5 separate regions of the Homo sapiens genome follow, and regions 1, 2, 3 and 4 are each linked to region 5. Evidence: promoter capture Hi-C in 16 types of primary human blood cells and fetal thymus (Javierre and others, 2016). All regions are on one chromosome and are shown on one strand. Each heading gives the region's core, a stretch centred on a gene start or on the middle of the fragment in contact. The rest is flanking DNA. Distances are from core to core; before and after follow the strand shown.

Region 1 (5,014 bases), core at 237-2,736, 140 kb before region 5:
GAAAGGACTTACAAAAAAGAAGCTAGACACCGAAGAGGATACACAGTTGGATTCCATTTATAGCAAGTACAAAAACAGGAAAAACTAATGTATGGTGACAGACGTCAGAATAGTGATTACTCTTTGGAGGTTAATGGCTAGAAGAAGACATGAAGGGGGAGATTCTGGGGTAATTCTTTCTTTTTTTTTTTTTTCCTGAGACAGAGTCTCGCTCTGTCACCCCAGCTGGCGTGCAGTGGCTCCATCTCAGCTCACTGCAACCTCCGCCTCCCAGGTTCAAGCCATTCTCCTGCCTCAGCCTTCTGAGTAGCCAGGATTACAGGCGTGCGCCACCACGCCCGGCTAATTTTTGTATTTTTAGTAGAGACGGGATTTCACCATGTTACCCAGGCTGGTCTTGAACTCCTGACCTTGTGATCCGCCTGCCTTAGCCTCCTAACGTGTTGGGATTACAGGCGTGAGCCACCGCGCCAGTCCTAATTATCTATTTCTTGATCTAAGTGCTACTTCTGCCAGTGTTCAGTTGGTAGAAGCCACCGAGCTTTTTGCTTATGTTTGCCCCTGTCTGGATTATTTATCCTTTAATCAGTAGTTCTCCAAAACCCCAAACTCCAGCGCTTTTTTTTTTTTTTTTGGAGACAAGGCCTCCCTGTCGGGTGCAATGCAGTGGCTCAGATCATAGCTCACTGCAGCCTCGAACTCCTGAGCTCAAGCGATCCTCCCACCTCTGCCTCCCAAAGCGGTGGGATTACAAGAGTAAGCCACTCCCCCCGGCCACAGTAAGTTTTTAGAAAAAATTTTAATTGCGGCCGAGCGCGGTAGCTCACGCCTGTAATGCCAGCACTTTGGGAGGCCGAGACGGGGGCGGATCACCTGAGGTCGGGAGTTCGAGACCAGCCTGACCAACATGGAGAAACCCTGTCTCTACTAAAATACAAAATTAGCGGGGCGTGGTGGCGCATGCCTGTAATCCCAGCTACTCGGCAGGCTGAGGCAAAAGAATCGCTTGAACCCGGGGGGGCGGAGGTTGCAGTGAGCCGAGATCGCGCCATTGCACTCCAGCCTGGGCAACAAGAGCGGAACTCCCGTCTCAAAAAAGAAAAAATTTTAACTGCAAAAATCTGGATAAGTTCTTGAAAGCTGGACTTTTCCCCCTTTTTGTGTCCTAAGCCTGCGCCGAATCTGTGCCTTCTTTGAAATGCTTTCCCGCCTTCTTTCTCCGGGTCCCACACTACCTGGGGCCGCACTCTTCAAGCACTGGATGCTGACTAACTGGTCTCCTTATCTGTCTTCCCGACTGGCCCAGAGCTGAGTTCTTACTAATCCCCGCTAACCTGGAGTTAGGTGCGCGTTGCAAAGCAGTAACGAATCCAATCAGCCGGGGAGGCAGACAGCAGGGCCGGAAGAACAAAGCTGGAAAGGGAAACGTCGCACCGGCTCTGCCCAGCGGCGCCAGCCCGGGCAACCTTCCGCAGTCGCGAAGCCACGCCCCTTTCCCAAGTACCTCCGCGCTAACTCCTCCCCCCTGGCCCCGCCTCTCACCCTGGATTGCCTAAGGCCCCGCCCACCAGGCGTGGCCCCGCTCTGGGAGGGCCGCAATCCCGCCAACAATGACTCCACCCCTCCTTCCGCTGAGAAACCTGTCCCTTTTATTTAAAGAATACCTTTTACGTCAGCCCGTCTTACGCAGCTTCGCGTCATCAGTGCAAGGCGCGGAGGCGGGACTTCCTGTCCCTGGTATAACAGCTTCCGGGAGAAGCCGGAAGAGACCGGACCCTGAACAGAATCGCAGATTGCCAGCCCTTTTCCCGACCCCTACGGAAAGACGAGTCCAGGGGCCGTCCTGGCGAGGTCAAAACATTTAGTCTGGTCTTTTCAGGTGAGGACTTCCCCATCCAGGCACAGTGCCGGTCCAATCCCCCTTTAATTTCCCATGACTCCTCGCGTCCTGAAGCCCCGCCCCCAGTTCCCCAGCCCCGCCCCGAAGTTTGAGGGGTGTGGACGGTTTGTGACCCCCTTAGCCGACCCTACTCCTCACTGGCCGGGACAACTGGTCTTATCACGGAGGCTGGGGCCAGGCAGCCCTTCGGTTCGGGTGGGCCCATGGACCCCAGTCCAACGCCGAGGGAATAGGACCATCCAAAAGCGGAACCTTCGCCTCAGAAAAAGGGTGCGGGACCCCTCCTCACCGTGCGGTCACGGTACGGACAGGGTAGATCACAGGCTGAGGGACAGAGCAAAGACCCCTGAGGCCGGACACCTGGGGTCCTGCCGGGCCCCTCCCCACGAGAGTTCCCTGTGTCTGTGCCAATCGTTTTCGTCTTTCTTTGCCGCAGTTTCTTTTCCTGTAAATCATGGTTAATAACATTAACCTTCTTACCATCAGGGGTTAGTTGTGGTTGTGATAAATAATTACTACCGTTATTAAGCAATTGCAATTTGCAGTGTGCCAGGCACTGTGCCAAGTATTTTGCTTCGATGATTTCACGTCATCTTCAAAACAACCTCATGAGGTAGGTACTGTTTTTAACCCCATTTTACTGATGAGAAAGCTGAGGCTCTGAGAAAGTTGTCTGAGGTGTTATAGCTAGTAAGACGCAAGACTGGGGTTATAATTAGTTGTTTTTCTAACTCCAGGGCCGGTATATTAAATAAGGATGTTGATGTGTTCCACAGATAATTCTTTGAGCAACTACTGGGGCATTATATTGGACACTTCAGTACCAAGAGAAATACATACGATCCTTGTCTACCAGGAGTCTAATAGAAAGATGGACAGGTACATAAGTATAATGAAGTTTTATAGGTGCTGTGAGAATAGTCTGATAATGGTAATCACCAGACTGGATTTGCCCAGGGACAGCTGTGAAAGCAGCAGATTCTCCAAGGGAAATAGTAGGTACTCCAAGGAGCAAGCAGGGACCCTTCCTGCCTTTCTAAGAAACTGCAGCAGCAGAACCTTCACAGTGAAAGAAGAGAGACTGAGATATGGATTGTGAGAGCTGTTATGGAATCTTTTTCAAATCACTCCACTTGGGGAGTGGTCATTGCAGGAGTGGGCCCATGGTGACCCAGGAAGGTGGTGCTTCTGGTGTCTGTCCCAAGTTGCTCCCCAGGGCTTGCCAGAAGTTTCAGAGGCGGCACATAATGTCTGCTGCATAGTATCTGCCCGCGGTCCCTACAGAGTTATCGTTTTAGATTTGTCTGACTCTGCTTTTGATGGTAGGTCAGTTTTCTTTGGCTCTTGACATCTGGCAGCCTGGATCTGTGACCAGGAATGAAATAGGCTCAAATGAGACAATCTGGCAGGGATGGCTAAACAGTGCTTCCAGGGGGGCCCCACAGTAAAATATTCCAGGCTTTTGGGTCTCTCTGAAGCCACTTTGGAGGCTGCTTAGGAGGCATATTTGCTTGACCAAGCGATAGAAATCCTAGAGAAACTCAGGCCTCAGCAAAGATTTTTCCTCATTCACCAAAAAAGCAACAACAGTAGCAGCAGCAGCAAGGCTGTGGGCTTTTCCTGCTGATCCACACTCATTGGGAAGTTGGAGTTTGAGAGAGGAAGGTCACAGAACGTGAAAGCAAGAGTTTCACAATAGAGGCAAAGGGTAGGGTAGGTCTTTAGGTTTAGGTTGGGGTGCCGGAATTAGGAAGGTTTGTGCCCCCTTCTACACAACACTGAACTCCTTTTTTTTTTTTTTCAGGGCTGGGTCAGTTAGAACCTAAACAAACTAGAGACCTGGTTGCAACCCCTCAGGCTCTGCTGATGCTGTCCCCCTTTGTTCCTGCAGCGTGGACCCTGCCAGCAGCCAGGCCATGGAGCTCTCTGATGTCACCCTCATTGAGGGTGTGGGTAATGAGGTGATGGTGGTGGCAGGTGTGGTGGTGCTGATTCTAGCCTTGGTCCTAGCTTGGCTCTCTACCTACGTAGCAGACAGCGGTAGCAACCAGCTCCTGGGCGCTATTGTGTCAGCAGGCGACACATCCGTCCTCCACCTGGGGCATGTGGACCACCTGGTGGCAGGCCAAGGCAACCCCGAGCCAACTGAACTCCCCCATCCATCAGAGGGTAATGATGAGAAGGCTGAAGAGGCGGGTGAAGGTCGGGGAGACTCCACTGGGGAGGCTGGAGCTGGGGGTGGTGTTGAGCCCAGCCTTGAGCATCTCCTTGACATCCAAGGCCTGCCCAAAAGACAAGCAGGTGCAGGCAGCAGCAGTCCAGAGGCCCCCCTGAGATCTGAGGATAGCACCTGCCTCCCTCCCAGCCCTGGCCTCATCACTGTGCGGCTCAAATTCCTCAATGATACCGAGGAGCTGGCTGTGGCTAGGCCAGAGGATACCGTGGGTGCCCTGAAGAGGTGAGTGGCCTGGGAAGTGGGAAGCTGCTTGTGCTCATCCCCCAGCCCTTGGTTGCCTCTAAGGAGGCTGGTGCAGACATGGGAGCTGCAGCAAAGTGTAAGATCCAGCCCCTACCAAGGGCAGGTAGATACTTTCTTAGAAATACACCCTTCAGGCCGGGTGCAGTGGCTCCCGGGACTTTGGGAGGCCGAGGCGGGTGCATCACGAGGTTAGGAGTTCGAGACCAGCCTGACCAACATGGTGAAACCCCATCTCTACTAAACATACAAAAATCAGCCGGGCGTGGTGGCGCACGCCTGCAATCCCAGCTACTCAGGAGGCTGAGGCAGGAGAATCGCTTGAACCCAGGAGGTGGAGGTTGCAGTGAGCCGAGATTGCGCCACTGCACTCCAGCCTGGGCGACAGAGTGAGACTCCATCTAAAAAAACAAAACAAACAAATACACCCCTCATTAGTTAAGGATAAAGATGAGGGGGGCCTGTCGCGGTGGCTCACGCCTGTAATCCCAGCACTTTGGGAGGCCAAGGCGGGCAGATCACAAGGTCAAGATATCAAGACCATCCTGGCCAGCATGGTGAAACCCTGTCTCTACTAAAAAAAAAAATACAAAAATTAGCTGGGCATGGTGGCGCACTCCTGTAGTCCCAGCTACTCG
Region 2 (5,619 bases), core at 2,671-5,170, 150 kb before region 5:
CCCATCTACACTGGGATCTTCCTGCACCTAAACCCCCACAGCTGGGAGTGGCAGCATGCACCTGTAGTCCCAGCCACTTGGGAGGCTGAGGTGAGAGAATCACTTGAGCCTAGAAGATTGAGACCAGCCTGGGCAACATAGGGAGATTTCGTCTCTAAAAAAATAAAAGCTCCCCTCTGCCCTGGGCCTATTCCCCATTCTTGACACCCATGAGCCCCGGTCCCCCTGCTCAGTCCTGATCAATCCCACGCTCACATCCTGGCTTCTTGTGTGCTTCACTACCCCACAGGCTCTGAGATCCCAGAAGGCAGGCTGGGCATCTGATCACCTGGCCCTGTTCCCTCCAGGTTGAAGTCAAGGCCTCCTTTCTCTGCCCTCAGGAAGCTAACTCTACAGACAAGGGGACTGAATACAGTGGTATCTTGGGACTAAGCTGTTAGGGTACCTAGCTCCTTCAGGTCTGTGTGGCAAGAAGGCAGGGGAGGGGCTAGGCTATGACTCTTGTGTGCCTCAGGGAGGAAGGGGACACCCACCTGCCTTGGCCTCTCTTGGTCTCACCCAGCCTTGCCAGATTCTCAACCCTGGGAACCCAGCTGTGGGTGCCCAGCCAGGCCGTTGATGTGGCAATTAACACACCAAATGGGTGCCAACAGGGTTCATCAAGGCTGCATTTATAGAGGCATCTTTCTCTGAGGACCTCCAGGCTTTGCTTTGTATGATCTAATTCCTCCTCTGGGATCCCCCACCCTGGACTGCCACCAAGAGGCTGGAGCCAGGCAGAGAGTAGGTGAACAGTAGAGTAGGGGCAATGCCGGAAAAAGCCCAGGCTGCTGCCACCCACTTGGGCGGGCGGGTGGATGGATGTTTGCTCTGGCAGAGAACAGGGACCTTCGTTCAATGCACTACACATAAGAGGCCCGCCTGCCATGAGCCAAGTGCTCTGACTGCCAGGGCCTGCTCTGGAGCCCACATCCAGCATGGCAGACCCACATCAACAGCATAGATAGGTGCTTTACAGCGTGCCCCTGAGTCCTTCAGGAGTGCAGATTGGGCAGTGGCTGGAACTATAAGAGTCAGGCAATGGGTTGCTGAAGAGACCTCTCAGAGCAGGTGACCTTAGGGGTAGATCCTCAGGAAGGTGTTGAGGGAATTCTGAGCTAAGGGAATGGCCTGACAGGGAACGGTTGTGGGGAGCCGTGCGTGATGAGGATGCCTACCCTACGTGAGTGGCATGGGGCCAAACCAAGGAATTGGGGGCTTAGTTGAAAAGGGCAGGCCAGGTGCAGTGGCTCACACCTGTAATCCCAGCAATTCAGGAGGCTGACTTGGGAGGACTGCTTGAGGCCAGGATTTGGAGCCCTATTTTAAAAAAATGAAAGGACAGGTATTGGAAGGCAGCAGAAGTTTTTAAGCAAGGGAATTAACCATTTTAGACAGATCATTCCGGCAGCGGAGCAGAAGGGATATGGCCAGAGGAAGAAACACCAGGTGAAAGACTGAGTTGATCCAGGTTTAAGGCATTACATCGAGGGGCTGAACTTGAGACAGTCCCTGAAAATGTAAGAACAGGAGCTAGAACTTGCTTATGGGAAGGGCCTAGGGAGAGGAAGAAATAAAAGATCACTGGGCAAGGTGCTGCTGCAGGGCCAGGAGGCAGGACAGGCAGCGGGAGAAGGGCCAGGAGGAGCCCCAGATGCAGAGGGGACAGACCAGCCCTGCCTGCAGGCCGCTGTGCACTGAGTGAGCTCAGGGTGAGCAGAGCTTTTGAGCCCTCCCCTTCCCCAGCTTGGCAGGCACACCAGCTTGTGTGGTTTCACGGCTTCATTCCTCCCCCTAGAGGCTCCTGGAAGCACAGCTGCTTTCTCCTAAGAGTGAACAGGTCTGTGGCTTAAACATCTTAGGTCCATTCCCAGAGTTTCCAGCTCAACCCCTTGGCTCTCCTCAGGCCGGCCATGTGAGCCCCCTTAGCAGCTGGGTTAAAAAAATAAATCAAGGATGATTGAAGGTGCTGGGAGCTGTGGCTCACGCCTGTAATACCAACACTTTGGGGGGCCGAGGCGGGCAGATCGCCTGAAGTCAGGAGTTTCAGACCAGCCTGGCCAACATGGCGAAACCGACTACTAAAAATACAAAAATCGGCCGGGCGCGGTGGCTCACGCCTGTGATCCCAGCACTTTGGGAGGCCGAGGCGGGCGGATCACGAGGTCAGGAGATCGAAACCATCCTATTCTTGGCTAATACGGCGAAACCTTGTCTCTACTAAAAATACAAAAAATTAGCCAGGTGTGGTGGCAGGCGCCTGTGGTCCCAGCTACTCGGGAGGCTGAGGCAGGAGAATGGCGTGAACCCGGGAGGCGGAGCTTGCAGTGAGCCGAGGTCGCGCCACTGCACTCCAGCCTGGGTGACAGAGCGAGACTCCATCTCAAAAAAAAAATAATAATAAATAAAAATACAAAAATCAGCTGGGCATGGTGGCATGCACCTATAATCCCAGCTACTCAGGCAGCTAAGGCAGGAGAATCACTTGAACCCCAGGAAACGGAGGTTTCAGTGAGCCGAGATCACCCCACTGCACTCCAGACTGGGTGACACCATGAGAAAAAAAAAAAAAGGATGATTGAAGGCAGTTTCTACAGACTAGTCTGTCCTGCTTGGAGAATGGGGGAGGCTGCCAGGTGGCTGCAGCAGCTGAAGGCAAAAAGTGTACCATCTTTTTTTTTTTTTCTTCTTTTTTTAAGAGATGGAGAGGCAGGGGGTGGTGGCTCACGCCTATAATCCTAGCACTTTGGGAGGCCGAGGCGGGCAGACCACGAGGTCAGGAGTTCGAGACCAGCCTGGCCAACATGGTGAAACCCTAAATTAAATCTCTACTAAAAATACAAAATTTAGCTGGGCATGGTGGCGGGTGCCTATAATCCCAGCTACTCAGGAGGCTGAGGCAAGAGAATCGTTTGAGCCCGGGAGGCGGAGGTTGCAGTGAGCCAAGATCGTGCCATTGCACTCCAGCATGGGAGACAGGGTGAGACTCTGTCTCAAAAAAAAAAAAAAAAAAAAAAAAGATATAGGTCTCACTGTGTTGCCCAGGATTGTCTCAAACTCCTAGGCTCAAGCAATCCTCCTGTCTTGGCCTCCCAAAGTGCTAGGATTACAGGCATGAGCCACCATTCTTGGCCCAAAGCACACCATCTATGTGGGGTCCTGGCTCTGCCTCTCACAAACTGTGACCTTGAGCCAGTAGATTACTTTGTTAAGCCTTAAATTCCTCATCTGTAAAACAGAGATAAGACCACCCATCTCAGGGGCATTCAACTGTGATAATTTCATTTATTGTCCAAACCAAGTTTACTAATTATTGGGTGGGCTGGGAAGTATGATCCCCTGGGTGAAGGTGGATATGAATGTGATTTAAACACCGTGAAACTCTGTGCATATGTACAGAGTTATTGCTGTTACTGCAGATGCTGGGAAGAGCTGCTCACCTTCTCAGTAACTCTGCCTTGACCTCCCCTTACCTCCTGTGCTGAGGTCAGCCCTCTCTCCTCCACGTGGGCCAATGGTGGCTCCTGCCCTCCAGCCAACATCAGAGAGGCTGGAGGCACCTTGTCTTCCTCCCAGCCCTGCCCATCTCCATGACTGACCTTTTTGCGCACCCTGGACCTTGCCAACCCAAGATGCTCGCTCTAGAGATGAAGGTGGATGCAGATGCTGGGGTTCGGGGGTGGCCTCAGCTGAGGGCCTGCTGACCAACCAAAGGGTATCGGCAGGGGCAGGGGCTGGCCCTCACCCTGGGCTGGGGGTTGGGCCAGCAGCTTCTCAGCACCAGGATCATGACTCTGAGCAAACCATGTTTACCAGAGCAGCAAAGGACCTATTTATAGCCTCAGCTGCTGCTTTCTCTGGCTCACGGTGGCGGGGGCAGGGTGGCTCCTCAGAGCAAGGGAGGTAGTCGGGTCGAGGGAACCTGGCTCTGCCCAGGTGCCACTGCCCAAACCCCTGGGCCCCATCCATGGCAAGAGAGACCTTCCCCTTCACCTCCTCCATGCTGCGCTCTCTCCGCCTGCAGCAGGAGTGGCTGGAATGGGAGGACCGGCGGCGGGCGGCTGCCCAGCAGTGCCGGAGCCGCAGGTGCCCGTCAAGTCCCCGGGCCCGACTCACTAGGCCTCACCGTTCCTGCCGAGACCCAGCTGTCCACCAAGCCCTCTTCTCCGGCAACCTGCAGCAGGTCCAAGCCCTGTTCCAAGATGAAGAGGCCGCCAACATGATTGTGGAGACTGTGAGCAACCAGCTGGCCTGGTCGGCTGAACAGGGTAGGGGGCACCAGAAGAGGGCAGAAGAGGAGGGAGAAAGAAGGGGAGTGGGTGGGGAAGGGGGAGAGTCTAGGCCCCTCCTTCCCTGCAGACCACAGACTATAGCAGCCCTTTCCACCACCTATCCTAGCTCCCTCCTAAACAGAGATGAGGCAGGGTTAGCAGTCTGTATGTCTTTTAAGAATTAAAAGTTGACCGGGCACAGTGGCTCACGCCTGTAATCCCAGCACTTTGGGAGGCCAAGGCAGGCGGATCACGAAGTCAGAAGTTTGAGACCAGCCTGACCAACATGGTAAAACCCCATCTCTACTAAAAATAGAAAAATTAGCCGGGCATGGTGGTGCGCACCTGTAATCCCAGCTACTCAGCAGCTGAGGCAGAAGAATCACTTAAACCCGGGAGGCGGAGCTTGCAGTGAGCCAAGATAGCGCCACTGCATTCCAGCCTGGGGGACAGAGCGAGACCCTGCCTAAAAAAAAAAAAAAAAGAGACAAGGTCTCACTATGTTGCCCAGGCTCATCTCGAACTCCTGAGGTCAAGTGATCATCCCGCCTTGGCCTCCCAAAGTGCTAGGATTACAGGTGTGAGCCACCACCCCAGGCCCCAAGGTGAACAAGCCTTTGACACTATTAGCCATTCAAAGACGCTGAGATTTCCTTAATGGGAGTCACTCTACTTAGTTGGCCCCTGTGGTTTTATACAGCAATTAATTTTTTTATGACACATACTATGTTTTGTTACAGATTGATAAGCTGTATTAAAAGGCTGTTCCAATTTATTCTTCCACTTCAGGACTTGAATAAGCCCCCTTCCACAGGTACAGCCTGGCAGTGTTTGTGCTCAGCAAACCATGCAGAGGGAAGGCCAGTGTCAGCTGTCAGCTGGAACCAGCATCCCCACTCCCTGCCCTGCCCTGTCTTATACACCACCTCCCAAAACTATTTGCTCTCCCTAGGGTTCTGGGTGCTGACCCCCAAGACCAAGCAGACGGCACCCCTCGCCATCGCTACAGCCCGAGGCTACACAGACTGTGCTCGACACCTGATCCGGCAGGGAGCTGAGCTGGATGCCCGTGTCGGGGGTCGCGCTGCCTTGCATGAGGCCTGTGCCCGAGCCCAGTTTGACTGTGTGCGGCTGCTGCTGACCTTCGGAGCCAAGGCTAATGTGCTGACTGAGGAGGGCACGACTCCTTTGCACCTCTGCACGATCCCCGAGTCCTTGCAGTAGGTGCCTGGGGGCTGAGACAGTTTGGGGAGAAATGTGTGTGTGTGTCTCCAGCTCACAAGGCCAGAAGAGGGAACCTGACAACCAC
Region 3 (5,555 bases), core at 2,828-5,327, 220 kb before region 5:
TCCATGCAGGCATCTGTAAACTGGCAGGCAGAACAGCACCCAACACCCAGGGTAGTTAGGCTCGGGAGAATGTACGCGGAGGAGCTTGGCACAGGGCCTGGGAAGATCAAGAGGTGCGAGGCAGGGCTATTATTAATGGCTCCTCATATTTTTTGTGTCCTGAACTCTTTTGGCAATCTAGTGAAGCCTGTGGACCACTTCTCAGAATGGTTTTTTCTTTTTTTTTTTTTTGAGACGTAGTTTCGCTCTTGTTGCCCAGGCTGGAGTGCAATGGCACGATCTCGGCTCACTGCAATCCCTGCCTCCCAAGTTCAAGCGATTCTCCTGCCTCAGCCTCCCAAGTAGCTGGGATTACAGGCATACGCCACCATGCCCGGCTAATTTTGTATTTTTAGTAGAGATGGGGTTTCACCATGTTGGCCAGGCTGGTTTCGAAGCCCTGACCTCAGGTGATCCGCCTGCCTCGGCCTCCCAAAGTGCTGGAATTATACGCGTGAGCCACCATGCCTGGCCTTCTCAGGATGTTTCTGAAGTGCATAAAATCGGCTGGGTGCAGTGGCTCACACCTGTAATCCCAGCACTTTGGGACCCCGAGGTGGGCAGATCACTTGAGGTCAGGATTTCAAGACCAGCCTGGCCAACGTGGTGAAACCCCGTCTCTACTAAAAATACAAAAATTACCCAGGCATGGTCTCACATACTCGGGAGACTGAGGCAGGAGAATCGCTTGAACCCAGAGGCGGAGGTTGCAGTGAGCTGAGATTGCACTACTGCACTCCAGCCTGGGCAACAGAGCGAGACTCTGTCTCAAAAAAAAATTAAAAAAATAAATAAAAAATAAAGTGCATAAAATGAAATACTTAAGAATTCCCAAATCTTTTAAGTGGGGCCAACTTCACAGACCACCTGGATTCTAAGGGTGCCAGCCTCAGAATCCCACCAGAGGGAAGTCTTAGCACTCATTTCAGACTGTCTGAATGTCACTCTGCGGTCCTGGCACAAACAAAGCCCTTCTTGTGGGTCCCACACAACACAAACCCGTGCAGCCAGCGGCTGGGTGTCGATGCCAGAGGAGGAATCTCTGAGAGCAGCTTCCTTCCCACTCCCGCACTTCCAGGCCATCTCACCTGCCTCGCTACCTCCAGGAAGGGCCACTCTGTGCTCTTGGCTCAGGCCACAATTGTGGGATCCCTTTTGTCCCTCAAAAACATTACTTAGCACAGATAAGCACAAGTTTTGGGCCTTGCTCTCGGGGCCCCCAGCTGCAAGCAGTCCAAAATTCTTCCCTGGGCTCCAACCTCACTGAGCCCCACTGCAGGTGACACCTCTCTCCCCAGTTCTATTCCACATCCTCCCGGGCTGAGGACATAGGAGGCCCTAAGCCCCTCTTCCCACAAAGCAGACACAATGTGAAACTGACCTCAGAGACCCTTAGAGTGTCAGGGAAGGAAAGGCCTGAAGACCAGCAACTCAATTCCCCCTGTTTTCAGAGGGAGGAAAGTGAGGCCAGAGAAGGAAGAGACTTGTCCAAGGTCACCTGGAAAGGAGATGGAGGACCCAGGGCTTAATCCCAGCTCTTCTGGCTCTCTGTCTTCTCCCCACTAAAAAACAGAAGGGGAAACATTAAGGCCCGGTCTCAAACTGAATGAGAGATGCAACAAGGGGCCAAACTCTGTATTAAGGATCCAGAGGTCTAGACAAGGGCACCTGGTTGGTCCCCAGAACATCTGAGCCCAGGGGTGCAGGGGAGAATGGGATCAAGTGCAGGGAACCCCCAGAAACCTTGAGGCAGACTGTGACTCTGAAGGACCTTAAGCTCGGGATGCAGAGCCCTGATGGAAGGCATAAAACATCTCTCACTGGTGCAAATAGAGTTAGTAGTCGATCCTGGGATGCTCTCTGGAGAAATAGACTCACATTTCCCAGTCCAGCCATTTCTAGCATATACCTGGGTACAAAGCTACAGGCAAGTAAAAGGCACACTAACCATTCAAAGTCTGCAGCTATTGCTAGGACTGTTTGCTCCACACCTGGGGTGGAATGGCAGGGGCTCCAGAGCAGATCTGCCTCCACTCCCTAAGCACAGCACAGCCCTGGGTGTCCAGCAGGGCACCCTGCCCACCTGGCTGCTTGCCATAATCCCCCATTCCACTGGGGTTTAGACACCTGCTCCCTGGCGGCTGGAAACATCCTCTCTCCTGACTGACAGGCGGCTGGGAGTTGGATTCACCTCTTTCTAGGGCGACAGCCTCCCTCCTCCTGTATAGGCCCTTCTCCCAGGAGTCCCAAGACCCACTAAGGCCTTCCAGGGATGCTGATGACATCTACTGGCTGACTGCTGGGCCCTGTGACCCATGTCCACACAGCTCTTACTCCAAGGATGGGCTCAGTCTACTCGCATCAGAATCACCTGAGACATGAGTTTAAATCACTGGTTCCTGGGCTGCCCTACAGAATCCAAACCTTTGTTGGGGGGGCAGGGTGTCAAGGCCTGAGAATCTGCATTTTAATACGCTCCCTTGGTTAATTCTGATGCGACCAAAAGTTTGAGAACCACTGCCTCACAGCGTCCCCAGGCTGCCTCCTGCCAACCTGACAGCTGTTACAGCTGTGTGCATGGACACAGTTAATCTGATTTCCTGTCTGGCAGCTGTGTGGCAGGGAAGGGACAGCTGAGGGTCTCAAAAACAAGAAGAGGGGATGAGGCAGGGGGAGGGGGACACAGGAGGTTGTATGGGGGCTGGTGTTCAACTTTATTCCTGAGCCCCTCCTCTCCTTGGGCTAAAATCCCCTCAGGGAGAAAGATCACAGACCAAGTGGTCCTCAGTATTTACAGAAAACAAAGCCTCCTCTCACAACCCCAGGAGGCCCCCAAGGCTAGAATGGTTCCTGTGCTCTAGGAGCACAAACTGTGGACGCGCACTGACAGGCCCAGCACTTAAGGCTGTGTAGGTGGCATATTGCACATGGGCTCTCGTCTAAAGGGGTGAGTTGGGGCTGACATCTAGCCCAAGCTCCAATCGCCAGGCCATGCACACTGGCATGAGGACGTATCTACCCAGAAGAGGGCCACCTTTTAAAAATCTGCACAAAAGAAGCTTTTTTTTTTTTTTGAGGCAAAGTCTTGCTCTTGTTGCCCAGGCTGGAGTGCAATGGCGCAATCTCGACTCACCGCAACCTCTGCCTCCCAGGTTCAAGCGATTCTCCTGCCTCAGCCTCCCAAGTAGCTAGGATTACAGGCATGCACCACGTCGGCTAATTTTTTGTATTTTTAGTAGAGACGGGGTTTCTCCATGTTGGTCAGGCTGGTCTCAAACTCCCAACCTCCCAAAGTGCTGGGATTCCAGGTGTGAGCCACCGAGCCCGGCCAAAAGTAGCTTTTATGTGGATTAGCAATGGTCCTACCCAGACACCTGAGTTCAAATTCCAGCTCTCACTTACTCTGTGACCTTGGGCAGGTTCCCTTTTTTTAAGAGATAGGGTCTTGTTATAGCGCCCAGGCTGGAATGCAGTGATCATGGCTCATTGCAGCCTCAAACTCCTGGGCTCAAGCAATCCTCCTGCCTCAGCCTCCTGAGTAGCTAGAACTACAGGTGCATGCTACTGTGCCTGATTAATTTTTTTTTTTACATTTTTTTGTAGAGACAGGGTCTGGCTATGCTGCGCAGGCTGGTCTCAAACTCCTGGCCTGAAGTGATCTTCCTCCCTCAGGCTTCCAAAGTGCTGGGATTACAGGTATGAGCTACCATGTCCAGTAAGTTCCTTAACCTCTCTGAGCCTTCTCAATTATACACCACAGCTATCAACACTGTCCTAAAACAGATATGGCAAGGGCCGGGCGTGGTGGCTCACGCCTGCAATCCCAACACTGTGGGGAGGCTGAGGCAGGCGGATCACGAGGTCAGGAGTTCGAGACCAGCTTGGCCAACATAGTGAAAACCCATCTCTACTAAAAATACAAAAATTAGCCAGGCACGGTGGCGTGTGCCTGTAGTCCCAGCTACTCGGGAGGCTGAGGCAGGAGAATCGCTTGAACCCAGGAGGTGGAGGCTGTGGTGACCCAAGATCGTGCCACTGTACTCCAGCCTGGGCAAAAGAGGGAGACTCCGTATCAAAAAAAAAAAAAAAAAAAAAGGGCAGGGAAAGTACCTGATAGCCTTGTCACTCAGTGCATTATAATAGTTCCACTCTCACCCCTGAGTCTTGCACTTCTTACCCTCCCGGCACTACATACCTATACACACAGCCAAACCCAGAAAGACTGAAGAGCACGAACACGAATATCCAGGGAAAGCCCTAAGACCAAACCTGGACCCCATGGCACTTCCCAGTGTCCATAGCATTCCTTCCTGGCACAAGCAGGATTCACACCCTCCCTCCATGGGAAAAGCAGACTCCTCCTCCATGCCATCTCATAAAGTCCTGCGTATTGTCTGGGCATCAGCTCCACCCAGTACAAGACAAAGGGGAATCCAGGGCCCACATAAGGGAGGCAGAGAATTCCCCACCTCTGTGTCCTTGAGAATCCCATACTAGAGTTCAAACTCCCAGGCTCCCCAAGCCAGAACTAAGCTGGGATGATGGTGGTGCCCACTGTGCACTGGGGAGCTGTGGTAGGGTGGCCAGGCAGAGACCCCATCCATCAAGGAAGACCTCTGATCGCTAAGAGCAGATGCTGAGATCCGCCCCACTCTTTAAGCAAGAACAGCAGACTGCCCCTGTCCTTCGGTAGGCTAAGGCTCTGTCTTACCCGCTGGGGTGACTCACTAAAGCTGTCTCTATTCACCCAGAGGTCCAGGCCCCAGAATAGAGCCCAGGAATCCTGCCAGCAATTCTGGACTCCAGCCCTCCCCATGCGACATTCATTCATCCATGTGCCAGGCACTGTGCTAGGTGCTGGGCAATGGCAACAACCAAGACAGCCCAGAGAGCAAAGGCTATCCCTAAAATAGGGTTCTAAAGATGCTGCTGGAGGTGGCAGGCAGGCACCACCCTCGAAAGACCCTTGCCCCAACCCCTTGGGCTTGGGAGACCTGCGCAACTCACACCATCCAAAGAAGCTTCCCTGGACACCTGCTTTTTCAGCCATAGGATCTTGCATCCTGTCTGGAGACCGATCAAGAGATGGGGAGAGGGGGTGGGGAGGGAAACACCAGGCTGCCTGGGCCCTCATGGCCGTGTTTATCCGGGGTGGATTTTTTTTAACCCAAAGGTTAAAGTGTTTCTATTTGAAACATCTATTTACATTCCAGAGTCCAAAAAAAAAACAAAAAAAAAACAAAAAAAAAACAAGGCTGCCGAGCTCCAGGCCTATATCTGTCCCTAGCCGCGTCACAGACACAGCATCAGAGCTGCGCAGGGGGAACATTCTTAGCCCTCTCCCCGAGCCGCTGAGGTGACTCACGCCTCCCTCCTGCCAGCATGGACCAAGCCACCACTCTGAAGGCCAGCCAGCGTTGGGGGTGGAGTGGGGAGACAGGGATCTGGACAGAGGGGCTGCCTGGGAGTCCATGCAGGGGCAGCCAGGCTTAGGGAGGAGATGAGAGAGCAGGGTC
Region 4 (5,141 bases), core at 622-3,121, 200 kb before region 5:
AATTACATGATCCAGCCAAAGTAGGAGGATATATTGGAAAAGAAGGGGAGGCTGGCACAGAACTAACATTTCCTCCATCCTTGCCCCCAAGTAACCCACACTTGAGATCTGTCTCTCTGGTCTCTGGCATGCCCACATTCCCAGGACAGAGTGGAGATACTGGGGGCCCATTTCTCTAACTCAGAGAGACCCCTACTGCTTTGTCAAGAAAGCCCAGATCCAAGTTCAAGTGAAGAGAGGGCAAAGAGAGGAGTCAAGAAAAGAGGAAGGAGACAAACCAAGATCTCCCCAAGCTTTGTGTTTAGGGAGGGAGAGGAAGGAGGGAAGACTGGAATGAAGAAGCAGGCAGCCCCCAACATGGCTCATCCACCATCCAGCCCAGCCAGCCTAGCCCAGCCCAGCCCAGCCCAGCATCTCAACAGCCAGCATAGGCTCAGGGTGCCTAGGACTGGGGAGACTGAAGACCATGCCTGCCTGCCTACATCCTCTGAAACTAAGAGGAAGCCAAAGGCAGGACCCAGACCCAGACTGCAATCCTGCAAGGCAATCTGGCTAGGGGTCCCTCTGACCAAGACTCCTGGATCTCACCCTCCCCCCCACCTCCTTTTGTTCCCATAATCTGGCTCCATCCTCCCCTCCCAGTTGGACACTGAAACCAATCACCACCACCTCCCCAAGCTCCAAATCTAATCCCAGATCCCAAAAGCATGGTGGTCACTGACTGAGTGATGGGTCCCTTTTGCACCCTCCTAAAAGCAACTGCAGCTGTTACCTTTCCTCTTTAGGGACACACCTCATTTCAGAAGGGGTATCAGCCAGGGGTATCAAGTGGTCATCTCCTCTCCCAAAGGAAGCACCCAACCTCCCCACTTCAACAGCCCCCACCAAGCTCCCAGATTAATTACTTACACCCAGCCAGTTCTCATCTTCCCCAGGGCCCCAGGGAAGGGTGGGGTGGAGAAGCTGACTCCCCCCAAGTTAATAAGGCACTGGTAGTGCCCCCGCTTCCATGAGATACAGATCCAGGATGAAAAATGGGGGGCATCCACCCAAGACAAGAAGGGGTTGGGGGGGAGCTCCATTTCATCTCCTAGCTCTCGCATCCTGGCTCCAAGGTGTCAGACAGGAGAAGAGGGTGGCAACAAACGCAGTAACGCCTCACAGGAGACGGGGTGAGAATAATGGGAGAGAGAAGTAAGGTGGACTCCGCAGTCCCCCTCCTCATGCACGGAAGTCAAGGACATAAAATCAAGGATGCGTTCGTAGCTATGGGGAGAAGCGCTCTGGGTGGACAGCACCCCTCACCTCAGAGTACCAAGAAAGGGGTGTCCAGCGAAGAGGGGTCTGCACAGAATCCGGGTGCAGGGCTCAAATGGCTCTGCAACGCAACATGCGCCGCCAGGGAAGGGGCAAATCAGACAACCCCGGCCGGTCTCCGAGCCATTTGGGGGCGCAGGGCGCGAGAAGGCGGGCCCCTCCCTTACCTGTAGGGAAGGCGCCCCTGTCTGGGAGGGGCAGGGAGGGGCGCGCGCAGCAACCCCGATGTCCCGCTCACGGGCTGCCGATGCTCCCGGGGGGCGCCGGCTGGCTCCCAGGGCCGGGAGGAAGGAAGGGGGGCGCGGAGCGCGGCGCGCGCGCTGGGAGCCCGCGGACAGAGACAGCAGGAGGAGGGGGCGCCGCCTCGCGTCCCGGGGTCCGGGGAAGATGGGATCTGGGCCGGGGCGGCGCGCTCACCCGCTGCGGCTCGAGCTCCGGCTTCGCGGGCGGCGGCGGCAGCAGCGGCGGCGGCAGCGGCGGCAGCACCTCCTCGACGGCTCCTCCATCTTTGCGGCGGCTCCTCCGGCTCCGCTCGCCGCCGCCACCAACAACAACATTCGGAGACGTCACTCCCGTCACGTGACCCGACCCGGAGCTAAAAATAGACCCAGACCCCCCCCCCAGCCCCCCCCGCCTTCCCCTTGCCCGCAGCCACCACCAACCCCTCCCCTGCCTCTCGGCCCTCCCCGCCGGGCGGGGCCAGCGACGCCATCGTGACAGCTCCTTAAAGGGCCAGTGCCCAGCACAGGGTTCGGCCGAGACGGGGTGGAAGGGAAGGGATCGGAACCCAGCGAGCAGGAGTGGAAGGATCGCTGCAGGGGCCGAGTATGGATGCTGGGGCTCAACCTTTGGATTGTAAAAGTTTCCTCCTTGCGCTCCCCGGACTTTCTTTTCAAAACGTGGATGGTGCAATCGTCGCTTGCCTAAGCTGCTCCCCTAACACGCCCTCCCGCGGTCGGGGAGGGGACCTGGGGATAGATTCCCAGGGGCTGGGAGGGCCACCGCAGCCTCTGCAGCGGGGCCTGGCTGCGGGTGGATGGTTCGGACAAGTCTCGAACTCGCCAGCTCTGACCGCACACACTGCATCCGTGCCAGGGAAAGAAAAGCCTGGGAAAGGCCAGGGTATGGCTGTAACACTCCAAGGCCTTCAAAAGGGCAGACCAGCAGACCAGGAGCCGGAAAGACTTCCCTGACTTTGGTGCCATCCACGCTACATCTCCTCTTGGTACACAGTATGAACATGTTTAATTAGACCTAGACAATTTGTCAATGACCCAGCAATTCCACTAACAAAAATGTATTCCAAATAAATAAACGTTGTTATGTTAAAAAATGAACATGAGATTGTTTGTAATGATGTGAAAAGTTGAAAACAACCTAAATATCCATCGATAGGGAATTGGCAAGCAAAGCAGGAGACATTCATTCAGTAAAATATTATCCAGACATTAAAAGTTTTATAGGGGACCGGGCATGGTGGCTCACGCCTGTAATCCCCGCACTTTGGGAGGCGGAGGCAGGCGGATAACCTGAGGTCAAGAGTTTGAGACCAGCCTGGCCATTATGGTAAAACCCCGTCTCTACTAAAAATACAAAAAAATTAGCCGGGCGTGGTGGCAGGCGCCTGTAATCCCACCTACTCAGGAGGCTGAGGCAGTAGAATCCCTTGAACCTGAGAGGCGGAGGTTGCAGTGAGCCAAGATCGTGCCATTGCACTCCAGCCTGGGCAACAAGAGTGAAACTCTGCCTCAAAAAAAAAAGTTTTAAAGGGGCCAGGTGCATTGGCTCTTGCCTGTCATCAATCCTAGCACTTTGGAGGCCGAGGCGGGAGGATTGCTTGAGCCCAGTTCAAGACCAGCCTGGGTAACATGGCGAGACACTGTCTGTATTTTAAAAAAGAGGCCGGGCGTGGGCCGGGCATGGTGGCTCACGCCCGTAATCCCAGCACTTTGGGAGGTCGAGGCTGGTGGATCACGAGGTCAGGATGTCGAGACCACCCTGGCTAACACAGTGAAACCCGTCTCTACTAAAAATACAAAAAATTAGCCGGGCGTGGTGGTGGGCGCCTGTAGTCCCAGCTACTTGGGAGGCTGAGGCAGGAGAATGGAGTGAACCCGGGAGGCGGAGGTTGCAGTGAGCAGAGATCGCGCCACTGCACTCCAGCTTGGGGAACAAAGCGAGACTCCGTCTCAAAAAAACAAAAAACAAAAACAAAAGAAGAAGAAGAGGCCAGGCGCGGTGGCTCACGCCTGTAATCCCAGCACTTTGGGAGGGCGAGGCGGGCTGATCACAAGGTCAGGAGATCGAGACCATCCAGGCTAACACGGCGAAACCCTCTCTACTAAAAATACAAAAAAAAATTAGCCGGGTGTAGTGGCGGGCGCCTGTAGTCCCAGCTACTCGGGAGGCTGAGGCAGGAGAATGGCGTGAACCCTGGAGGCAGAGGTTGCAGTGAGCCGAGATCACGCCACTGCACTCCAGCCTGGGCAACAGTGTGAGACTCCGTCTCAAAAAAAATAAAAAAATAGCCGGGCGCAGTGGCTCATGCCTGTAATCCCAGCACTTTGGGAGGCCGAGGCGGGCGGATCACGAGGTCTGGAGTTCGAGACGAGCCTGACCAAAATGGTGAAACCCCGTCTTTACTAAAAATTCAAAAATTAGGCGGGCGTGGTGGTGCACTTCTGTAATCCCAGCTTCTCAGGAGGCTGAGACGAAACAATCACTTGAAACCGAGAGGCGGAGGTTGCAGCGAGCCGAGATCGGGCTATTGCACTCCAGCCTGGGCGGGTGACAGAGCGAGATTCCGTCTCAAAAAAAAAAATAAAAATAGGCTGGGCGCGGTGGCTCACGCCTGTAATCCCAGCACTTTGGGAGGTCGAGGTGGGCGGATCACAAGGTCAGGAGATCGAGACCATCCTGGCTAACATGGTGAAACCCCGTCTCTACTAAAAATACAAAAAAAATTAGCCGGGCGTGGTGGCGGACCCCTGTAGTCCCAGCTACTCGGGAGGCTGAGGCAGGAGAATGGCGTGAACCTGGGAGGCAGAGGTTGCAGTGAGCTGCGATAGCACCACTGCACTCCAGCCTGGGCGACAGAGCCAGACTCCGTCTCAAAAAATAAATAAATAAATAAAAAATAAAAAAGAAGAAAAAAAATTTTATAGGTCTATACCGACCTGAAAAGATGCCCGTGATATATTGTTTTCTTGAAAATCAGGACTCAAACAAGTATTACTGAATTGTTCCATTATTATAAAAACAACAAACTAGATTCATATGCCTGAGTATATGTGTATATCAAAAAGCCTGGCCAAGGGCCAGACCTGTGCTCACGCTGGGGGGCTGAGGTGAGAGGATAGCTTGAGCCGGAGAGGTGAGCTAACTAAGAACACACCACTGCACCCAGCCTGGGTGACAAAGTGAGATCCTGTCTCAAAAAAAAAAAAAGCCTAACCAGACATGGTGGAATGGTGGCACACACCTGTAGTCCTACCTACTTGGGAGGCTGAAAAGGGAGGATTCATTGACCTCAGGAGTTCAAGCCCAGCCTGGGCTACATATGGAGACCCCATCTCTAAAAAAAAAAAAAAAAAGGAGGACTGGGCGCGGTGGCTCATGCCTGTAATCCCAACACTTTGGGAGGCCGAGGCGGGCGGATCACAAGGTCAGGAGATCGAGACCACCCTGGCTAATAGGGTGAAACCCCATCTGTACTAAAAATACAAAAAATTAGCTGGGCGTGGTGGCACATGCCTTGTAGTCCCAGCTACTCGGGAGGCTGAGGCAGGAGAATCGCTTGAACCCAGGAGGTGGAGGTTGCAGTG
Region 5 (5,039 bases), core at 1,561-4,060:
GCCAAGGCGGATAAATCACTTGAGGCAGGAGTTCGAGACCAGCCTGGCCAACACGGCAAAACCCTGTCTCTACTAAAAATACAAAAATTAGCGGCAGGTGGTGGTGCACGCTTGTAATCCCAGCTACTTCGGAGGCTGAGACAGGAGAACCACTTGAACCCAGGAGACAGAGGTTGCAGTGAGCTGAGATCACACCACCGCACTCCAGCCTGGGTGACAGAGCGAGACTCTGTCTAAAAGAAAACAAACACCCCATGGAGGTACTGCCTTCTCCGGAAGCACTTCCTGACGGAACCGGCTACCTCTGCGTGCCTTGCCCAATCCCTTTACTCCTGGGTCTGCTGCCCAGCCAGACCGAACTCCTCACGGACACCGACGAATCCCTACGGACCCAGCTGCTCCTCACCATGGTGCCAGTGAAGCGGGTAGGGTCTTGAAACCAGGTGGCACAGCGGGCACCATTTGGGCACAGGTACAGAGGCTCCAGGACACCATTGCAATACAGGAGGCACTTCCCTGTGGATTGGAGAGAGGAGGGCACTGGGGAAAGGCAGGGGGCATTATAATGACAGGATCCTAGAACCTTGCAGGGAGGCAGTGGGCCCCTATCCCTGGAAGGCCAGTAAAGGCCAGGTCCCTGTGTGGATGTTCTGGTGCAGGTCACAGGACTGGCTGGCAGGACCTGGGAGTATATGCTAGTCCATGGCTGTGGAGCCCACTGGTGCCCTGGGGACAGGGACAAGGACTGTCTCCCCCTTGCACCCTCCCATGCTCCCTGTGGCTTGGGGCACTCACATTTGGTATAGGAGAGGCTCCACAGTCTGGAGGAAGGCATCAGCTCTAAAATACAAGGCAGCCCCTCAAGTCAGGAGAGCCCCCACCCGCCCTAGGGACCCCATCTCTGGGAGATCTTTTTATTTTATTTTTTGAGATGGAGTCTTGCTCTGTCGCCCACCCTGGAGCATAGTGGCACAATCTCAGCTCACTGCAACCTCCACCTTCCCGGTTCAAGCGATTCTCCTGCCTCAGCCTCCCAGGTAGCTGGGACTACAGGCGCATGCCACCAAGCCCGGCTAATTTTTGTAGTTTTAGTAGTGAGAGAGTTTCACCACGTTGGCCAGGCTGGCCTTGAACTCCTGATCTCAGGTGATCCACCCACCTCAGCCTCCCAAAGCGCTGGGATTACAGGTATGAGAAACCACGGCCAGCCTCTGGGAGATCTTTCTTTTGCCCAGGCACCACCCCTCACTAGTTCCAGGTCAGGTACTCACCGCTGGCCATGGAGGGCCGCTGAGACTGCAGGCGAACCTTCACCACGTCCAGGGGTGTCACTGGGGGAGGAAGCGGGTCTGAAGGCTCCTTTCAGGACCCCACCCCTAGGACTCCTCCCCCAGGACCACACAGCCTCCAATCTCCGGTCTGCCCCATCCCCACCCGCCCCCACCCCACCTCCCCTAGGTCTTACTGAAGAGAGAGGTAACCACAGCCCCGGTGCCTGAGGCCACCATTTGCTGGAGGGGGCTGATGCCCGCAGGGTCCTGGTCAGCCATCTTGAAGCTTCAGTCCTGAAAACCAAACCTCAAACAGACCACAACTCCAGGGATGGCAGGAAAGGAGGCTGGGCCACTGTGAGACTTTTGTTTTGAGACGGCGTCTCGCTCTGCGCACTGTTGCCAGGCTGGAGTGCAGTGGCACCATCTTGGCTCACTGCAACATCCACCCCCGTTCAAGCGGTTCTCTTGCTTCAGCCTCCCAAGTAGCTGGGACTACAGGCGCGCACCACCACGCCTAGTTAATTTTTGCATTTTTAGTAGAGACAGGGTTTCACCATGTTGGCCAAGATGATCTCGATCTCCTGACCTCGTGATCCGCCCGCCTCAGCCTCCCAAAGCACTGGGATTACAGGCGTGAGCCACCGCACCCGGCCCACTGTGAGACTTTAACCCAACCCTCATCCACCGCCCTCGAAACATCTGTTGCCTCAACAACCCTGGCAATGACCTCTAAAGCAGGGACTGTCCGCCCCCCTCCGCCGGGGAAAACTAAGGCTCGGGGAGACGAGGTGGCCTGCCCAAGGTCACTCAGGAGTGGTTCCGAAGGAAGCTAGGGTGCCAGACCTATCGCTCGAATGCAGTAGGAGCCAGGGTCCTTCCCTCGTCCACCTCGCACGTGTCCACTGCGCACCTCCTACGTGCAGGCGCGGATTTGGCCCTCGTGGCCCCAAAATCAGAGTACCTGTGCTGCCCCCACAGCCCCCACTCCAGCACCAAGGCCCCGGGCAGGCACCTGAGAGCCCAAGTTACTGGGCGTGGAGGGACGGCCGGGCATCGAGGGTGACGTGTAAACAGATCCGGTGACCAAGAAGGGCCCGTCGCCTCCTCAGGACTGCGGGCTGGGATGCCCGGCCCTCCCCGCCCGGCCGGACGGGCCAGACCCGGGGCCCGGAGAGAAAGAGCAGTCTCTGGGTTCCCGCCCCAAAATGCAGGCCCGGGGCGCAGCCGGGAGAGCGGGAAGTAGGAACGTAGGACCAGGACGTCTCCCCGACCCTCGGCGACACTCCCGGCCCCGAACGGCGGAGAGCCGCCAGGTGAGGGGGACCACGCCAGCTCGACGGCCCCAGCACCTGCCCTGGCTCGCACGGCCGCCCGGAGACCCCCGCTTCCGTCTCCGCCCCCAGCCCCGGCCCAGTGCCGCCTACCTGGCTCTAGGCTGGTGCTCGTGCGGCGCGGCGCCCAGGGTCAGGCGGGCCCATACCGGCTCCGCCGCCTGTGCGCGGTCCGCGCGCGCTCGCAGCGCACCTAGGCCGACGCCGAAAGCAGCCAAGGGGGCCCCGCCCCTACACCGCGCCACGAGGCCCCGCCCGCCGCGGGCCGACCAGCCGCAAGCCCGGAGTGTCCCCGGCTCCGCCCACTCGCGTCTCCGCCCGGACCTGCGACGGTCCCGCCCCCTTGACGGGGCCGCGCGGGCGAGTTCCATGCCTGTCCAGCGCTGAGAGCTGCCGGCCAACTTCGCGGTCTCCACGTCGCGCTTAACGTGGCAGCAGCACGCACTTCCAGCATCTTTTTTTAGACAGCATCTTTTTCAGCCTCGCTCTGTCGCCGAGGCTGGAGGGCAGTGGCGCGATCTAGGCTCACTGCAGCCTTGACCTCCCGGGTTCAAGCGATCCTCCTGCCTCAGCCTCCGGAGTAGCTGGGACCACAGGCGCGCGCCGCCACGCCCGGCTGGTTTGTTACTTTTATTTTTGTCTCCCTATTTTGCCCAGGCTAGTCTGGAACTCCTGGGCTCAAGCGATCCGCCCACCTCGGTCTTCGAAAGTGCTGGGATTCCAGGCGTGAGCCGCCGCGCCGGCCTTAACAGCGCATTTTCACCAGCCCCGCCCCGGCCGCGCGCGGCACTGGAAACCCCAGCGCCTTCTGGACGGCGAGGGTGACGCACTGGCCCTCTTCCTCGGTGTCCTCAGGTGCGTGGCGGCGGCAGTGAGAATGAGTTCTTCGAGATCGCCGGGAGACCACACAATAACGACGAAGTTACTTGCCGGGCTACCCGCCGAGACTTGAAAACTTCGCGGCGACTTCTCTCGCCGGCCTTAGCATCGCCCCCATTTTTCAGGTTACAGGACAGGCCTGCAACTGCAAAACGCTTTGTAAACCACAGGGCCCCGCGCGGGTGTGCGCCACTGGGTTAGCTGAGCTGCAGCCCGGGCCGGGCGGGCTGGGACGTGAGCAAGCCGGGGGAGACGGGAGAGCCATGGGGAGCCAGATCCCACCTTCGCGTGACCTTGGGCAAATCACAACCTCGCCTAAGGCCCGGAATGACTCTGCGCGGAGAGGAAGAGCACTGAGTGCGGGAGGGCATCGACGTTTTGGTGTTGGTTGCTCTCGTATCGTGATTTCTTCTGAGTCTCAAAACTCTTTGCAGTAGGTTATTGTTGAAATAGATTACCACAGGCCGGGCGCGGTGGCTCACGCCTGTAATCCAGCACTTTAGGAGGCCGAGGCGGGCGGATCACTTGAAGTCAGGAGTTCGAGACCAGCCTGGCCAACATGGTGAAACCCCGTCTCTACTAAAAATACAAAAGTAGCCGGGCATGATGGCTGGCGCCTGTAATCCCAGCTACTCGGGAGGCTGAGGCAGGAGAATCGCTTGAACCCGGCCGGCGGAGGTTGCAGTGAGCCGAGATCGCACCACTGCATTCCAGCCTGGGCAACAGAGTAACACTCCGTCTCAAAAAAAAAGGCCGGGCGCAGTGGCTTACGCCTGTAATCCCAGCCTTTTTGGAGGCCGAGGCGGGCGGATCACCAGAGGTCAGGAGTTCGAGAGCAGCCTGACCAACATGGTGAAACCTCGTCTCTACTAAAAATACAAAAAATTAGCCGGGCGTGGTGGCGCATGCCAGTAATCCCAGCCACTCGAGAGGCTGAGGCAGGAGAATCGCTTAAACCCGGAAGGCGGAGGTTGCGGTGAGCCGAGACTGCGCCATTGCACTCCAGCCTGGGCAACAAGAGCGAAACTCCGTCTGAAAAAGAAATAGATTACCCCGTTTTACAGAAAGTGAAACTGAGGCTCGACGTGAAGAGCCGGAGATTCGAACCGGCCGGGTGCTTTTCCCAGGGCTCCACACTGCCTCCCCGGGAGACAGGAAGGCTTAAGTCCAGCGCTGCCCTCTCCGATCCCGCTTGTCAGGGAGACACTTTATTTCCCGGGGCAGCCCCGTACCCCAGGCCCCACCACCCACTTCGCGTTTAGAACTTCTGTGCTATCTTGCTTATTTGTCCTAACAGAGAAACCAGCACGCGCGGGCGGTGGCGGAGGGGGGCGGGCGGGCGGGTGGAGGCGGGGGGGGGCGGGCGGGGAGATGGGTACTCCTAGCCTGCGCCTTTAAGAAGGGTAGGCCTCGACTTTGACGTCTCTGCCTTCCCCGCCCTTCAGGCCCCCACTGGTCGCGTCCGGCGCTGGAGGAGCCCAGTCAGCCGGCGCCTGCCGGGTTAGCACGTGGACTCCGAGGGGCCAACTATCAGCTTTCCCTGACAAAATGCCTT

The links. The method cuts DNA at HindIII sites, captures the fragments that hold promoters and counts their contacts. A CHiCAGO score of 5 or more calls a contact.
Region 1: a contact is called between the fragment with the promoter of ASB16-AS1 here and the fragment with the promoter of SLC25A39 in region 5, in 8 of 17 cell types (total CD8 T cells, naive CD4 T cells, naive CD8 T cells and 5 more). The highest score is 9.2, in total CD8 T cells.
Region 2: the fragment with the promoter of ASB16 here is called in contact with the fragment with the promoter of SLC25A39 in region 5 in 11 of 17 cell types (total CD8 T cells, naive CD4 T cells, naive CD8 T cells and 8 more); the score reaches 9.3 in total CD8 T cells.
Region 3: a fragment that was not itself captured here is called in contact with the fragment with the promoter of SLC25A39 in region 5 in 1 of 17 cell types (naive B cells); the score reaches 5.2 in naive B cells.
Region 4: the fragment with the promoter of HDAC5 here is called in contact with the fragment with the promoter of SLC25A39 in region 5 in 10 of 17 cell types (total CD8 T cells, naive CD8 T cells, naive B cells and 7 more); the score reaches 9.6 in total CD8 T cells.

What each region holds. Positions count from the first base shown.
Region 1 is chr17:44,185,231-44,190,244 of GRCh38, forward strand. ASB16-AS1 (ASB16 antisense RNA 1) reads right to left here and starts at 1,487. Exons shown (of 3, transcript NR_049730.1): 1 at 1,335-1,487. TMUB2 (transmembrane and ubiquitin like domain containing 2) reads left to right here and starts at 1,742. Exons shown (of 4, transcript NM_001076674.3): 1 at 1,742-1,879; 2 at 2,446-2,513; 3 at 3,792-4,358. The coding sequence starts at 2,479. RefSeq lists an enhancer at 1,066-1,600. The HindIII fragment of the contact is 11,845 bases long and covers 1-5,014 here.
Region 2 is chr17:44,166,784-44,172,402 of GRCh38, forward strand. ASB16 (ankyrin repeat and SOCS box containing 16) reads left to right here and starts at 3,921. Exons shown (of 5, transcript NM_080863.5): 1 at 3,921-4,307; 2 at 5,263-5,530. The coding sequence starts at 4,007. The HindIII fragment of the contact is 23,995 bases long and covers 1-5,619 here.
Region 3 is chr17:44,103,495-44,109,049 of GRCh38, forward strand. All of the region lies in intron 3 of HDAC5 (histone deacetylase 5), which reads right to left. Among named protein-coding and RNA genes, the nearest start is that of HDAC5, 17 kb to the right of the region's middle. RefSeq lists an enhancer at 1,789-2,440. The HindIII fragment of the contact is 1,962 bases long and covers 3,097-5,058 here.
Region 4 is chr17:44,121,770-44,126,910 of GRCh38, forward strand. HDAC5 (histone deacetylase 5) reads right to left here and starts at 1,872. Exons shown (of 27, transcript NM_005474.5): 1 at 1,735-1,872. RefSeq lists silencers at 1,564-1,703, 1,754-1,853, 1,924-1,983 and enhancers at 2,074-2,233, 3,380-3,879. The HindIII fragment of the contact is 7,779 bases long and covers 292-5,141 here.
Region 5 is chr17:44,322,013-44,327,051 of GRCh38, forward strand. SLC25A39 (solute carrier family 25 member 39) reads right to left here and starts at 2,811. Exons shown (of 12, transcript NM_001143780.3): 1 at 2,699-2,811; 2 at 1,466-1,565; 3 at 1,272-1,331; 4 at 796-840; 5 at 407-540. The coding sequence starts at 1,550. It overlaps LOC124904009 (a long non-coding RNA gene), which reads left to right and starts at 3,441. Exons shown (of 2, transcript XR_007065768.1): 1 at 3,441-3,609; 2 at 4,930-5,039. RefSeq lists silencers at 2,354-2,573, 2,594-3,023, enhancers at 3,124-3,313, 3,474-3,553, 3,604-3,663, 3,734-4,585, 3,844-3,893 and 1 more and a cis regulatory region at 4,558-5,039. The HindIII fragment of the contact is 4,927 bases long and covers 1,556-5,039 here.